4 separate regions of the Homo sapiens genome follow, and regions 1, 3 and 4 are each linked to region 2. The links are contacts of gene promoters, found by promoter capture Hi-C in blood cells and fetal thymus (Javierre and others, 2016). All regions are on one chromosome and are shown on one strand. The core of a region is centred on a gene start or on the middle of the fragment in contact, and the rest is flanking DNA. Distances in the headings are between cores, read along the strand shown. Region 1 holds the start of RFX5 (regulatory factor X5). Region 2 holds the start of TARS2 (threonyl-tRNA synthetase 2, mitochondrial). Region 3 holds the start of CDC42SE1 (CDC42 small effector 1). Region 4 holds the start of TNFAIP8L2 (TNF alpha induced protein 8 like 2).

Region 1 (2,877 bases), core at 1-2,500, 860 kb after region 2:
TTTCCCTGTCTCTTTATCTGACTGCTAGGGAGGGAAAAGGACTGAAATGCCCAGCAGGTGCTCAAGAATTGCTACCATGGCCAAAAATCTCCCTCTGCTCCCATGCCCTTGCTGAGAGGCAGTTCATCTACAGCCAAAGTGAAGTGCTGCAGGGATCTATACTCAGGTCTTGGACAGGACTTGGAGATGTGATGAGTACTTACGAAATGGTACCTCGGAGCCTCTGAAGAAGGGTGGTAGGTTCCCCAGCCTCAGCACCACCTGGGGGGGCCCTTCCCCCAGTCTTGGGGCTCTTAGCATCAGGCTCATCTTCTGCCATCCCGGCATGAGGGCTAGAATTGAGAGGGACAGGCATAAAGATGTAACTCACACTGGCCTTCCCTTCCCCAGAAGGCCCCAGGGCACTCCTCATCTCTTTACCCAGAAAGGCAGAGAAACAGAAACAAAGCCTCCGAATTTCCCCGGTGGTCTTTTTCTCACCACTTGCCTTCTCCGAAAATTAGAAATTATTCCATTACTTCGCCAGGCCCATATATGCCCAAAGAGATCTTTGCCATCTCCATTCTATCTGCCCCACCTTTCTGAAGTCTCCTAAATCTGGAAAACTGTAAAGGAAGAGATAGGGGGATTGGGAATCCATGTTAGCAAGAAATTTTCATTTCTGCCTCTGACCCCATACTGCCCTCCTCCCCCTCAAAAACAACAATAACAGCCACAAAACAAAGTTCTCTAATTCTCAAAAATACTCCTCACCATTGCATATGCCTGGGAGGTCAGAAAGGATACGAACATATTCTGCCCTTCTAGGCTTGGAAAAAAAACTGGGCCCAAGTTCTCATTACTTAATCTCGCCACGACTTCCCCCGCTGCTCCCCCTCCCCACGTCGCCGGCCCCTACGTCATCTCCCACAACAGCCCATCCTGAGGCGCGCCCCCACCTCCTTCCCTTCCCCCTCCATTCAATCCCCGGTTTCTGCAAAGTGGAGCGGGGGTGGGGCGGGGTAGCGGAACTCATGCGCTGGGCGTCAGAAACCCGGCAGGGGAATGGGGTCCCAGATTCCGGGCACGTGCACATGGGTGAAGAAGCTGTTGAAAATACAGCTACAATCTTTTTCTGCTCTCCTCCCAACTCATCTTGCCCCTCCCTACCTCTGAACAGTCGCCTTCCAACACAAGCAACAATAAAGGTAAGGGAGAAAGAGAAACTACCTCGTAGCCACCTTCACTCCAGCCCAGCCCCAAGGTCCTGGCCCAGCCGGCTCGTGCGTTGCTTTATTTTCCTTTTTCTGAATGGTTGTAACAGCCGCGATCTGCCTAGATACACGGGCGGCCTGCTCTGTCATTGGTCACTGCTGCCACCCGGAGACAGAAGGCGCCGGGCTCGTACCGGCGGCCGCTGAAGTCTGCCTGGTAACAGAATCTGATTGGTCAATAGGGGAGGGAAAATCCAAAGTTGGTCTTATTTGAGTCAAGAGGGGGAAGTCCGGGTTGGGTTTCGGTTAAAACTGGGGTCGGTTGGGACTGCAGGTCCCAAGAGGTTCTTCTCTTAAAGGGACCGCAGGATGAAAGAACGGGCGCTCGGCTCCCTTTGGAACTGTCTTTTCTTTTGCCCTCCCCTTTTGTGTTTCAGTTTAGTCTACGGTCCTCAGAGCTGCCGGAAGAGAAGAATCAATGGATGATAAAATAACTAGACAATGATGGGTAGGAGTGATGGAAGTTCACTGTAAGCTCCTATAACCCCCCATCACCATCACCACATGCCTAATACAACCTGCAGACACACTTACTCGCAACAGACCTGCAATCTGGGCTCTCTTTTCCTTCTTGATGGAGGCCTCAAAACCTCAGCAGTTGTACCCATTAAACTAAAATGCTTTTTCCCTCTTAGTATTTCTTGGTTTCCCGTGTGTACTTTACTTCCAAAGAGTTGCAAATGCATTTGCATCCCCATAGTTCTGCAGTCGGTGAACCCTGGAATTTTGATGGACTCCCACGGGGGTGCTGGATGCCACAGGAACTTTTTACACTCAGGGAACATTGTACTGAATAGGTCATGGGTTCTTAACCCTCTTACTTAAGACATTTTAAGGTTATGAATCAGACAAAAGCAATGGACCCTCTACCATGAAAAATGCACACAGAGACCAAGTTTTGCATCTAATTTCAGAGAGGTCATGGACTCCAGGTTGAAAGCCTCTTACATGGATGTATTTTGTTTTGCGCAGCGGTCATGTTACAACCAAAACTGTATTTGCCATCCTGACATCTAATATGTTCTCCAGGCTCATCATTAATGTGCTTTTGTAAAGAAGACAGTAGTGCTGCCTGAGCTCATCACCATTGCCCTTTACAGCCTACCTTTCCCTATTATCAGCTTCTATGAGTGCTGGGGGAACCCAGGAGATTGTGGAGTTGGGGCAATAAGGATATATTGGCAAGAGGTTTTCTTTTTTCTTTCTTTCTTTCTTTTTTTTTTTTCTTTGAGACGGAGTCTCGCTCTGTTGCCCAGGCTGGAGTGCAATGGCACGATCTTGGCTCACTGCAACCTCCGCCTCCTGGGTTCAAGCGATTCTCCTGCCTCACCCTCCCGAGTAACTGGGTTTACAGACGTGCATCACCACGCCCAGATAATTTTTGTGTTTTTAGTAGAGACGGAGTTTCACCATGTTGGTCAGGCTGGTCTCAAACTCCTGACTTCAGGTGATCCACCTGCCTTGGCCTCCCAAAGTGCTGGGATTACAGGTGTGAGCCACTGCACCTGGCCAGGTTTTCTAATAACAGCTAAAATTTATTTGGTGTTTATTAGGCCAGGCGCGGTGGCTCACGCCTGTAATCCCAAAACTTTGGGAGGCTGAGGTGGGCGGATCACCTAAGGTT
Region 2 (3,102 bases), core at 440-2,939:
ACATGGAGAAACCCTGTCTCTACTAAAAATACAAAATTAGCTGGGCCTGGGGTGGCACATGCCTGTAATCCCAGCTACTCGGGAGGCTGAGGCAGGAGAAGCGCTTGAACCTGGGGAGGCGGAGGTTGCGGTAAGCCGAGATCACGCCACTGCACTCCAGCCTGGGCAACAAGAGTGAAACTCCATCTCAAAAAAAAAAAAAAAAGATTAAAAGGTCTATAAAGTCCCTATTAAGCACCATGAGTATAAAGGGACTCAAACTGACCTCTGCAGATTCTTGATTCCAGCTTTTTTGTTTTTGTTTTGTTTTGAGATGAAGTCTCGCTCTTGTCCCCCAGGCTGGAGTGCATGGCGTGATCTCGGCTCACTGCAACCTCCACCTCCCGGGTTCAAGCGATTCTCCTGTCTCAGCCTCCCAAGTAGCTGGGATTACAGGCGCCCACCACCATGCCCAGCTAATTTTTGTATTTTTAGTAGAGACGGGGTTTCACCATGTTGGCCAGGCTGGTCTAGAACTCCTGACCTCAGGTGATCCACCCGCCTCGGCCTCCCAAGTAGCTGGGATTACAGGCGCCCACCACCACGCCCAGCTAATTTTTGTATTTTTAGTAGAGACGGGGTTTCACCATGTTGGCCAGGCTGGTCTAGAACTCCTGACCTCAGGTGATCCACCTGCCTCGGCCTCCCAAAGTGCTGGGATTACAGCGTGAGCCACTGCGCGCGGCCATCTTTGCTCCAGCTTTAAAGTGGTTACTCCAGAGGCTGAGGTGGTCAGTTGAGCCCAGGAGGTCGAGACTGCAGTGAGCCATGATTGTACCCCTGCACTCCAGCCTGGGCAACGGTGAGACCTTGTCTCAAAATTAAAAAATAAAACTGTTACAGTCATTTATCATAATAGCTTCTTGTTGCTTTTGCCCATTACCAAAAAACCATGGGCCACACTAGACGATTTACATAAAATTTAACTCAACAATTGGGAGCAACACTATTCTCATTTTATAGTTGAGAAAATTGAGGCTTAGAGAAATTAAATAGGTCAGGCAAGGCGGCTCATGCCTGTAATTCCAGAACTCTGGGAGGCCGGAGCGCGGTGGCGGTTTGGTGGGGGGGAGGGGAGGGATTGCTTGAGGCCAGGAGTTCGAGACTACCCTGGCCAACATAGTGAGACCCGCCCCCCCCTCCCGCCCCCCCCGGTCTCTATTAAATAAATATGAGAAGTTTAATAATTTTCCCAAAATTACATAGTTAATGGCAGATCCAGAATTTACACTAGGTCTGTCTGGTTCCCCAGTCTATGCTCTTAAGTTTTGCTACTTGCTGTAAGGACCACGTAAAATAAAATGTATAGTTAAAGGGAAATTACTACCATTTCCTGTCTGGTTTTCTCCCACTCTCGCCCTCAAAAGTTCACCTGCCCTTGTCCTCAAAGCCACAGGACGCCTAATTGCTATTTTTGGGTTTCAGCTGAAACGCCACGGGTCTGGGGGAATAGCGAGGGTGTGTTACATTTTCGGTCTTCCGGTCAGCCGGAACCACTCACACCGCTGCTGGTGCTGTGTAGGGTGTACCTCTTCGGAGTTCCTGGAGGTGGTGCCAGACTAGAGTGGCAGCTGTAGTAACCAATAGACACGGACTTTGTTGGACCAGAAGCCAATGAAGAATTACGTGGAGGAGAAGCGGCGATAATCTGTTTGAGGATGTAGGCACTGGTGTGAAGGAACATGGCCCTGTATCAGAGGTGGCGGTGTCTCCGGCTCCAAGGTTTACAGGCTTGCAGGCTACACACGGTGCGTGAGGCACCCCCAAAGCTCCGATCCGCATCAGACTTAGCCCAGCCGAAGCCCCCAAATTTTTATGTTAACCCAGCCTCACGCCACTCCTCCTCTCCCTGGTCCTCCGAGTCCCCAGAAAAGGACTCGTATCTAAACTCGTTATCTAATTCTCGAGTTAGCGGTCTGGGGGACTCTGAGCTCGAAGGACCCCCAGCCTAGGGTCTTGTATCACCCAATCCCCTTAAAAAGTAGGAATTCGGACGAAGTCCACTTAACCATCCCAAAGTGCCATCATCTGCAATTCTAAGAAAGAATGATGGGACGTGTGTTACCTGCTAATATATCTTTCCCTCCAGGCAGTTGTGTCGACCCCTCCACGCTGGTTGGCAGAGCGGCTTGGCCTTTTTGAGGAGCTGTGGGCTGCTCAGGTAAAGAGATTAGCAAGCATGGCACAGAAGGAACCCCGGACTATTAAGATATCACTTCCTGGAGGCCAGAAAATTGATGCTGTGGCATGGAACACAACCCCCTACCAACTAGCCCGGCAGATCAGGTAACAGGCCCATCCTGTAACTACCAGGATTATCCTTCTGCCCCTTTACTTTCTCTTCACTTGAGCAGGGGAAGAAAACTTGGTCTGCTTGTTTCTGTTCCGTCCCCATTAAGATAGCCTTTCCTGAAGATTTTGTTTTTGTTTTTTGTTGTTGTTCTTTTATACAGACGGGGTCTCTCCATGTTGCCCAGGCTAGTCTTGAACTCCTGGGCTCAAGCGATCCTTCCATCTCAGCCTCCCGAAGTGCTGGGATTACAGGCATGAGCCACCAAACCCGGCCTGAGATTTGTTTTATCTGTATTAGTTTCTGCATCAGAGTCTCTGTCCTTTCATTGGGGAAAGAAATGAAAGCTTCTGTTGCTCTGGTAACTCATTTCACCTTTGCAAGTTTACAGTTGCTGAGAGATGAGCAACTTTCTCCCCACTGTGGATTGTAACCCTGTCTGTTTTAAATCATTAATTTACTTTTTAATAATTGATACATAATAATTGAACATATGAATGGGTATATGTGATATTTTGATATATGCATACAATATGTAATGATCAAATCAGGGTGTTCAGGATATCTGTTACCCCAAACATTTATCATTTCTTTGTGTTGGGACTATTTCAAATCTTCTAGCTATTTTGAAATATACAATAAATTATTATTAACTGTATTCACCCAACTCTGCTATGGAACATTAGAGCATATTCCTTCTGTCTAACTCTATTTTTGTACCCATTAGCCAACCTCTTCATCTCCCCTCCCCCATCCTTTCCAGCCTCTGGTAA
Region 3 (3,310 bases), core at 426-2,925, 570 kb after region 2:
GGTTTGTCCTGATGGTGGTGGTGGCAGGTGGTAAGGGTTGGGGAAAAATGAAGAATTAGAGGAAACCCCCAACACCAGCAGGCAGGCTGTACTGTGACTGGACTCTCCCTCAACATCCCCCACTCTGCTCAAAGCTGAGGGACAGAGGTGGATAGTGCTGGGAGGGAAGAGAAGAGAGGGGGAGGAGAAGGAGAGAGGGAAAGGGGCAGTGGAGAGAACAAGGCCATTTCTGTTTCTTTTCCAGGGACCTGACCAGAGCTGGGTGGAGGGAAAGCGTGTGTGTGGGACTTGGCATGAAATGACCAATGATGACGAGAAGTGACCAGGAAATTCCATTCCCTAGGACATTAGGGTCTCTGAAACTTGAGGGTGGGGTCAGAGTGTGAAGAAGACAGGTCAGGGTGAATGTGATGGTAGCGCAGGGCAGTGGGGGATGGGAACAAAGCCAGAAAAGGAAGTAAGAGCCACTGGCGGCCACTCTTCTTTAAAGCAGCCAGAAGAGAGTGGGTTGAGGAAAAATGAAGTCCTGAGCTGGTCAGCCCAGGCGGAAGAGCCACCCGAATCCAACCCCACAGTGAATAGGGAAGGGGCTGAGAAAACAACAGGAGGGATGAGGATTAGACCTCATAAGGCCACGTCCTGAGAGCCAAGTGGTGCTCAGAACTCGACCTCTCTGAGTTCCAAATGGCAAGAGTGAAATATGGAACCGGGAAAGCCACCCCCCGCCCCCACCAAGATCATACTAGGACTTGAGGGTCTCAGAGCTGTTGGGAGGTGAGCAGAAGGGATGGGAAAGAGGTGCCAGGGAGGAAGGATGTACAGGCTAGTTCTCTGGTCCTGTTCGGGCCCCAAACCGGTTCTCCCGGTCCCACCGCCTCTGGCCCTAAGGCCTCCAACCCGCGGCCTGACAAGCCCTCACATGAAGCAGCTGGAGAGAAAGAAAGAATCGAGAGAATGGCATGGGCAATTCTGGCTAGAAGCCCGGGGCAGCAGCTGGTCCCTGTGTGGAGACCCCGAGACATGGAGGGCTGCTGAGGGACTCTGGAGAAGCGGTGTGGACTCCATATTTCAGCCAAGTGACAGGCCCAACACCAACCTTCCCTTCCCCAGGAAAGGTCTTCTGGGGGCTTAAGAGGAAAGAGGGCTAGGCCCTAAGCCTCCCCTCCCCAAATATATTCAATCACACAGATTCCGTATCTGTCTCCCCCCACTACACAACTCTACCTAGAAGTTCTCTGCTGTTCTCAACCCTTAACCGGACTGGGACCTCTCTGGGAATCTTTCGGACCCTCTCCCTCCCACCTCCCCCAACATTCCAGTTCCTTCTTTTCCTTCTACTCTTCAGCGGCCTCAGCCTGCGCACCCCAGGAGCGTGGATGACTACGGCCACCCCGGGCGCGCACCCCTTTCCCACCACCCCAGCATCTCTGCAGCCCAGGACACCCGCCTCCCCCACACCCCGCATCCGGTGTGTCTCCGCCTGGCCCGGCCGGCGCGGCAGGCGGGCCAGGGGACCAACTGCACGGCCTCACCTGCTCTTCTCCACCATCCAGACGTTCAGCTACAGCTGGTGGGGGTGAGGGACTCTGCTCCGTGGCCGCCAGTGTGGGCTTCCCGGGCTAGCTCTGCGGCGAGGTGGGGGAGCCGAGTACGAGCCGGCAGAGGTGGGGCCGGCTGAGGGCGGAAGCGGCGGCGACGCGATTACGAAACCCGTCCGGCTCGGAGCCCGGCGCACTGCTCCCCTCTGGACTGCGGAGGCACTGCACTGCGCGGGACGTGGGAGGGTGCCTCTGCAGCCCCTCAAGGCCGCCGCCCCTGCGGGGAGAACTGGAGAATGCGGACACCTAGATGAGGCCCTGGCACCCAAGCTGGGGCCCCCGGAATCTCACGTTCCCTTTACTCGCCAGGCATTTCGGGGCAAAACGAAGCGGAGCCCCCCAAACCCCCAGACCTAACCAAGTTCAGAGATTCGCAGAAGCACGCCCCCCACCCCAAATTTATTGTGCTCTACCCAAAATGGAATAGGACTAGGTTTATTTACCCATTGTGAGGGTAGAGAGGCGAGTCTGGAGGAGCAGGGATTGGGAGAAGGGGTGGAAAAATACTCTGATTCTTAAAAATACTTTGTAACCTAAAGTCCTTAAATTGTGGAAGAAAGGAATACTCCTCCTTTCCATTGTAGTCTAGAGTTAAGATTTCAAATCCATAAATTAGAGGACCTAAAATTAGAGGGCAATTAACTGCTCATTCATTGGGCCCCCAGTCAGCACGGGGGTGCTGGAAGAGATCGGGAATAATAGCGCAGACCAATGAGCCTAGGGAGATGCTTTCATCGTCTCTCCTTCCCTCAAGTGTTCTGGAACCTATCATTTGAATTAGCCGAGTCAGGCAGGAGGGGGCGGGGAATCCTTCCGCCCTTCTTAGGAGGGGCTGCATTGCAGGGGGAGAGTGAACTGACAGACTCAGTCACTGAAGAGGGAAAAGGAGTGAGAAGACAAAGCCGTCAAAGCCCCAACAGCTTTGTATTTCTCCAGCCCGGCGCAGACCCCGGAGCTCCCGAGGCACTCCCTCCATCTTTGGAACACGCCAGTAATTGATTGATAACAGGTAAACCAAACTGAGGGAGGGGGCAGGGGGCTGCAAAGATAGAAGAGCGGCTGCTTATGGTTAGATTGAAAGACCCCACATGAGGTGGGGGACAGCTGAAGAGGAGAGAAGGGGGCGCTATGAACAATGGGTAGTTATTTCTTCACAGCATCCATGCCTTGTTACCTTATACAGACCATTAATCTCTAACAATTTACTTGTAGTTATTTCTCAGCACCTACCTCATTTCAAGTATCCTTTTCTGTAATTTATTGTCCTGTGTATTTAATATCTTCAGTCTACTTATCTTCCTTTTCAAACCATAATTTGTTTTACCAGCTGTTTAATTTTTAGTCCTACTGTATCTCTCTGTCCTCTACTTCCCTATACTTGCAATTTTTTTCTGTAGTGTTCTATGTTTCTCTGTAGGAGGGAGTTTGGGAGGGGGTTATATGGGATAATGTTGGGTGTAATCCTGACCTTTCTTTGGATAATCTCTTTCATTCCACCTCGAATCTTTGCTCCAAAGAAAGAGGCAGCCTAGGGTAGGAAAGGTGGGGGCCTCTGTGTTGGAGAACTGCCTGATTCCATAGTGAAATCAGTATAGCCCACAGGAGCTAGGTATGGGGACAGATTCTGGAAAAGAATGATTTGCAGCTCAGTGGAATTGGTGGAGGAATGCTAGTAGGAAAATCCAAGCTCTGACTGAGGCACACATTATGAG
Region 4 (3,191 bases), core at 480-2,979, 670 kb after region 2:
AGGTGTGAGCCACCATGCCCAGCCGAGACAGGGTTTCACCACGTTGGCCAGGCTGGTCTCAAACTTCTGACCTCAGGTGATCCACCCACCTTGGCTTCCCAAAGTGCTGGGATTACAGTCATGAGCCACCGCGCCCGGCCTGGGGCAACTTTTTTAAAGTTTGCCATGATCTGATCTTTTTCCTTCTTCACTTATCTCTCAAACAACTTACATTCCAGACATAAATCACCACTTCCTGAGAACGTCCTGTATTTTGTTTTTTTCCTGCATGTGCTTATGCCGTCCCCATCATCTGGGACTTCTTCCCCATCTCTGGCTATTAAGTAGTTGAATCTATCTTTCCAAGTCTACCTCTTCAGCCCTATCATAATTAAGCTTCTTTACTCTCAAAATTATTTAAATCTCCATTAAAGTTAATGGCATTGTTTGACTAGTATTACTGTTCTTTATGTTTAAGCTTATTTCCCTCGCCAGATTCCCCATAAGATTCTTGATAGCAAGTGTTTTTGTCTCATTCAACAACTGTGACTTCCAGGATGGGTGCAGTGGCTCACGCCTGTAATCCCAACACTTTGGGAGACTAAGGTAGGAGGATTGCTTGAGCTTAGAAGTTCAGCCTGGGCAACATAGTTAGACCCTCCTCTCTACAAAAAAAAGGAAGGCTTGTGAGCCTCTGGTCCCAGCTACTTGGGAGGCTGAAGTAGGAAGAGCTCTTGAGCCCAGGAGGTCAAGGCTGCAGTCAGCTGTGATGATGCCACTGCACTGTGGCCTGGGCGACAGAGTGAGACCCTATCTCAAAAACAAAACAACAAACAAACAAACAAAACCCAATTGTGGCTTCCCCTCATTTTGTATCCCTTTAGCAGCTACAAAGTAGCTACTACAGTAGCCTACTCAGTAGGCCCTGCGGGGTGCGTTGGCTCACACCTGTAATCCCAGCACTCTGGAAGGCCAAGGTGGATCACCTGAGGTCAGGAGTTCAAGACGATCCTGGCCAACATGGTGAAACCGTCTCTACTAAAAATACAAAATAAGCCAGGCATGGTGGCACAGGCCTGTAATTTCAGCTACTTGGGAGGTTGAGGCAGGAGAATCACTTGAACCCGGGAGGCAGAGGTTGCAGTGAGCCGAGATCACCCCATTGCACTCCAGCCTGGGCAACAAGAGCAAAACTCTGTCTCAAAAAAAAAAAAAAAAAAAAAAAAAAAGGCAACTCAGTAGGCTTGTTCCTCTACGCTAGTGATTCAGTGCTGTGCTGGCACCTGCTGGTCACCTGTGGTGCAGCAGCCCTGGTCCCAGCACCTTCCTCCCTTCAGTATTAAGGGTTGTGACAGTCTGTGCTCTTACCTGGCAATCACTGGAATAATATATTAAATACTTGCCCCACAGCACCACCTTTCAATCTTCAGAACTTTTCCCACTGACCTCCTACCCCAGAAATTTGGGCTTTACATCCTTCCCAGTACTGTAGAAATGTAAGGACAGGATCTTCAGGAACTGGGCAGCAAGAAAAGAAAGAAGCAATTTGAGAGTGGAGGATGCAAATCCCTTTCCCCCCTTCAAAGAATTGAGACTATTTCCAACAGAATTCCACTCTTTTTGACCTTTGTCTTATTTCTAGGTTGCTCTTGGGCCATAGGCCTTCTTGGTGACAGAAGTGATGAACCGGAGGTTAAGCAGAGAGTAGGTAGGCGGGGCTCAAGGGGTGGGGCCAAGCCAAAGGGCTCTCACACTAAGTGAAGCTTCTCCATTCTGTAAGCTTTCCGGGAACATCCAAGGCAAGACTGGCACCCAGCACAGCAGGTGAGGGACCGGCAGTGACAGAATGGTAGACTTTAGGGGTAATGGTGGCAGAGGAATCTCTAGCTCTTTCAGTCTTAGCTTTTCATATTGTGAAACTCTCGCTTGTACAATTCTTGGGTCCTTTGTAGAGCTTAGCTTAGTTTTTCTGGTGGCAAGGCAGCCTCTGAAAGACCTGGTTTTGGATGCGGTGGGGGCAGGGCTGAGGGATGCAGGTGGATCCACATCCATATGGATGTGTGCGAAATGCAAGGAAATCTTAGGAAACAAGGAGATAGATGGGTAAGGGCCAGAGGGAGAGTATGGCCAGGCCAGAGGATCATAGGGAGGACCCAGACAAGAGAAAAAGGGAGACTGAAACAGGGAGAGAGGGAGAAGACAGCGGAATAAATGTGAGACGGCAATGGGGGCAATGGAGAGCTGGGTAACAGGAAGGCCAAGGAGGAAGGAAGGCTCACATGGAGCAATCTCCTCTTCCGGCTGGGGAGCATGGTCCAGAAAGCCCCAAGGCAAGCTGGGAGCAAAGCAAGGTTCAGGTTTCCACTGGAAGGATTCAGCTGGGGAAAAAAACCCCCACAGTCTCCACCTCCTCTGCCTCTTCAGACTCCCATTTTGGTTTGGGGGAGAGGGCGAGGCTGCTCCTCACTGCGGTCACAGCCACATCCTGCAGAGCAGAGGAGGGGGAAGTAAGAAGCAAAACAACCAGAAGAACCACAGGCGAAGACCATGGGGAGAGAACCCTGGACACATGGAGCTGATATGCCACCAAGAGGGTCCTGAGTTCAGTGTAGCAGAAGGCTCAGACCTTCAGGACTGCCTGCCCTTCTTGAGGTGTTGGCTTCTCGTGCTTCCTCAGTGTGCTTTAACCACACTGGGAGCATTCCGGGGAAGGAGGTTTCTCTGGATTATTTGGTTTGAAGCCCATCTTTATAATTTACTAGTGACTTTGGCCAAATTGCTATATTTCTCTTCGCTTCAGTTTTCTCATTGCAAAATGGGGATACCTACCCTAACCTTACACAGGATTGGGAAGGCTAAGATGACTGACGTAAAGCACTTGCATATAGTAGGTTCTCAGTAAATGTTAGTTATTACTCCTATTAGGATTCCTGGGATGCTTATGCTTCTTACTTTAAAGGAAGTATAGTGCACTAGCTGCCACTGGCTTTGGGGGCCAAAAAATGAGTTGCGTTTGATCTTGGGTAAATTACTTAATGTAAGTATCATTTGCTTAGCTGTAAAACAAGGATGGTAATATCTATGCCACACAGACATATGGCACAGAGTCAGTGTCCAAAAATGGTAGCTGTAAGAATTCTGTCAGGCTGGGCGTGGTGGCTCACGCCTGTATTCCCGGCACTTTGGGAGGCCGAGGTGGGCAGATCATGAGG

What was found. Contacts are between HindIII fragments. The CHiCAGO score rates a contact against its expected background, and 5 or more counts as called.
Region 1: a contact is called between the fragment with the promoter of RFX5 here and the fragment with the promoter of TARS2 in region 2, in 2 of 17 cell types (neutrophils and total CD8 T cells). The highest score is 6.2, in neutrophils.
Region 3: the fragment with the promoter of CDC42SE1 here is called in contact with the fragment with the promoter of TARS2 in region 2 in 1 of 17 cell types (neutrophils); the score reaches 5.3 in neutrophils.
Region 4: the fragment with the promoter of TNFAIP8L2 here is called in contact with the fragment with the promoter of TARS2 in region 2 in 5 of 17 cell types (fetal thymus, total B cells, non-activated CD4 T cells and 2 more); the score reaches 10.4 in fetal thymus.

What each region holds. Positions count from the first base shown.
Region 1 is chr1:151,346,002-151,348,878 of GRCh38, forward strand. RFX5 (regulatory factor X5) reads right to left here and starts at 1,251. Exons shown (of 11, transcript NM_001025603.2): 1 at 1,210-1,251; 2 at 488-605; 3 at 204-332. The coding sequence starts at 319. It overlaps RFX5-AS1 (RFX5 antisense RNA 1), which reads left to right and starts at 1,009. Exons shown (of 2, transcript NR_131972.1): 1 at 1,009-1,187; 2 at 1,631-1,890. RefSeq lists enhancers at 84-173, 513-1,712, 767-1,349, 1,316-1,665. The HindIII fragment of the contact is 13,633 bases long and covers 1-2,877 here.
Region 2 is chr1:150,485,730-150,488,831 of GRCh38, forward strand. TARS2 (threonyl-tRNA synthetase 2, mitochondrial) reads left to right here and starts at 1,690. Exons shown (of 18, transcript NM_025150.5): 1 at 1,690-1,787; 2 at 2,129-2,325. The coding sequence starts at 1,722. RefSeq lists enhancers at 1,515-2,021, 1,515-1,784. The HindIII fragment of the contact is 2,845 bases long and covers 1-2,674 here.
Region 3 is chr1:151,057,947-151,061,256 of GRCh38, forward strand. CDC42SE1 (CDC42 small effector 1) reads right to left here and starts at 1,676. Exons shown (of 5, transcript NM_020239.4): 1 at 1,533-1,676. It overlaps MLLT11 (MLLT11 transcription factor 7 cofactor), which reads left to right and starts at 2,451. Exons shown (of 2, transcript NM_006818.4): 1 at 2,451-2,607. RefSeq lists silencers at 14-73, 84-133 and an enhancer at 1,997-2,588. The HindIII fragment of the contact is 10,016 bases long and covers 1-3,310 here.
Region 4 is chr1:151,154,920-151,158,110 of GRCh38, forward strand. It overlaps TNFAIP8L2 (TNF alpha induced protein 8 like 2), which reads left to right and starts at 1,730. Exons shown (of 2, transcript NM_024575.5): 1 at 1,730-1,803. TNFAIP8L2-SCNM1 (TNFAIP8L2-SCNM1 readthrough) reads left to right here and starts at 1,730. Exons shown (of 7, transcript NR_144937.2): 1 at 1,730-1,803. It also overlaps a transcript of LYSMD1 not described here. The HindIII fragment of the contact is 1,285 bases long and covers 456-1,740 here.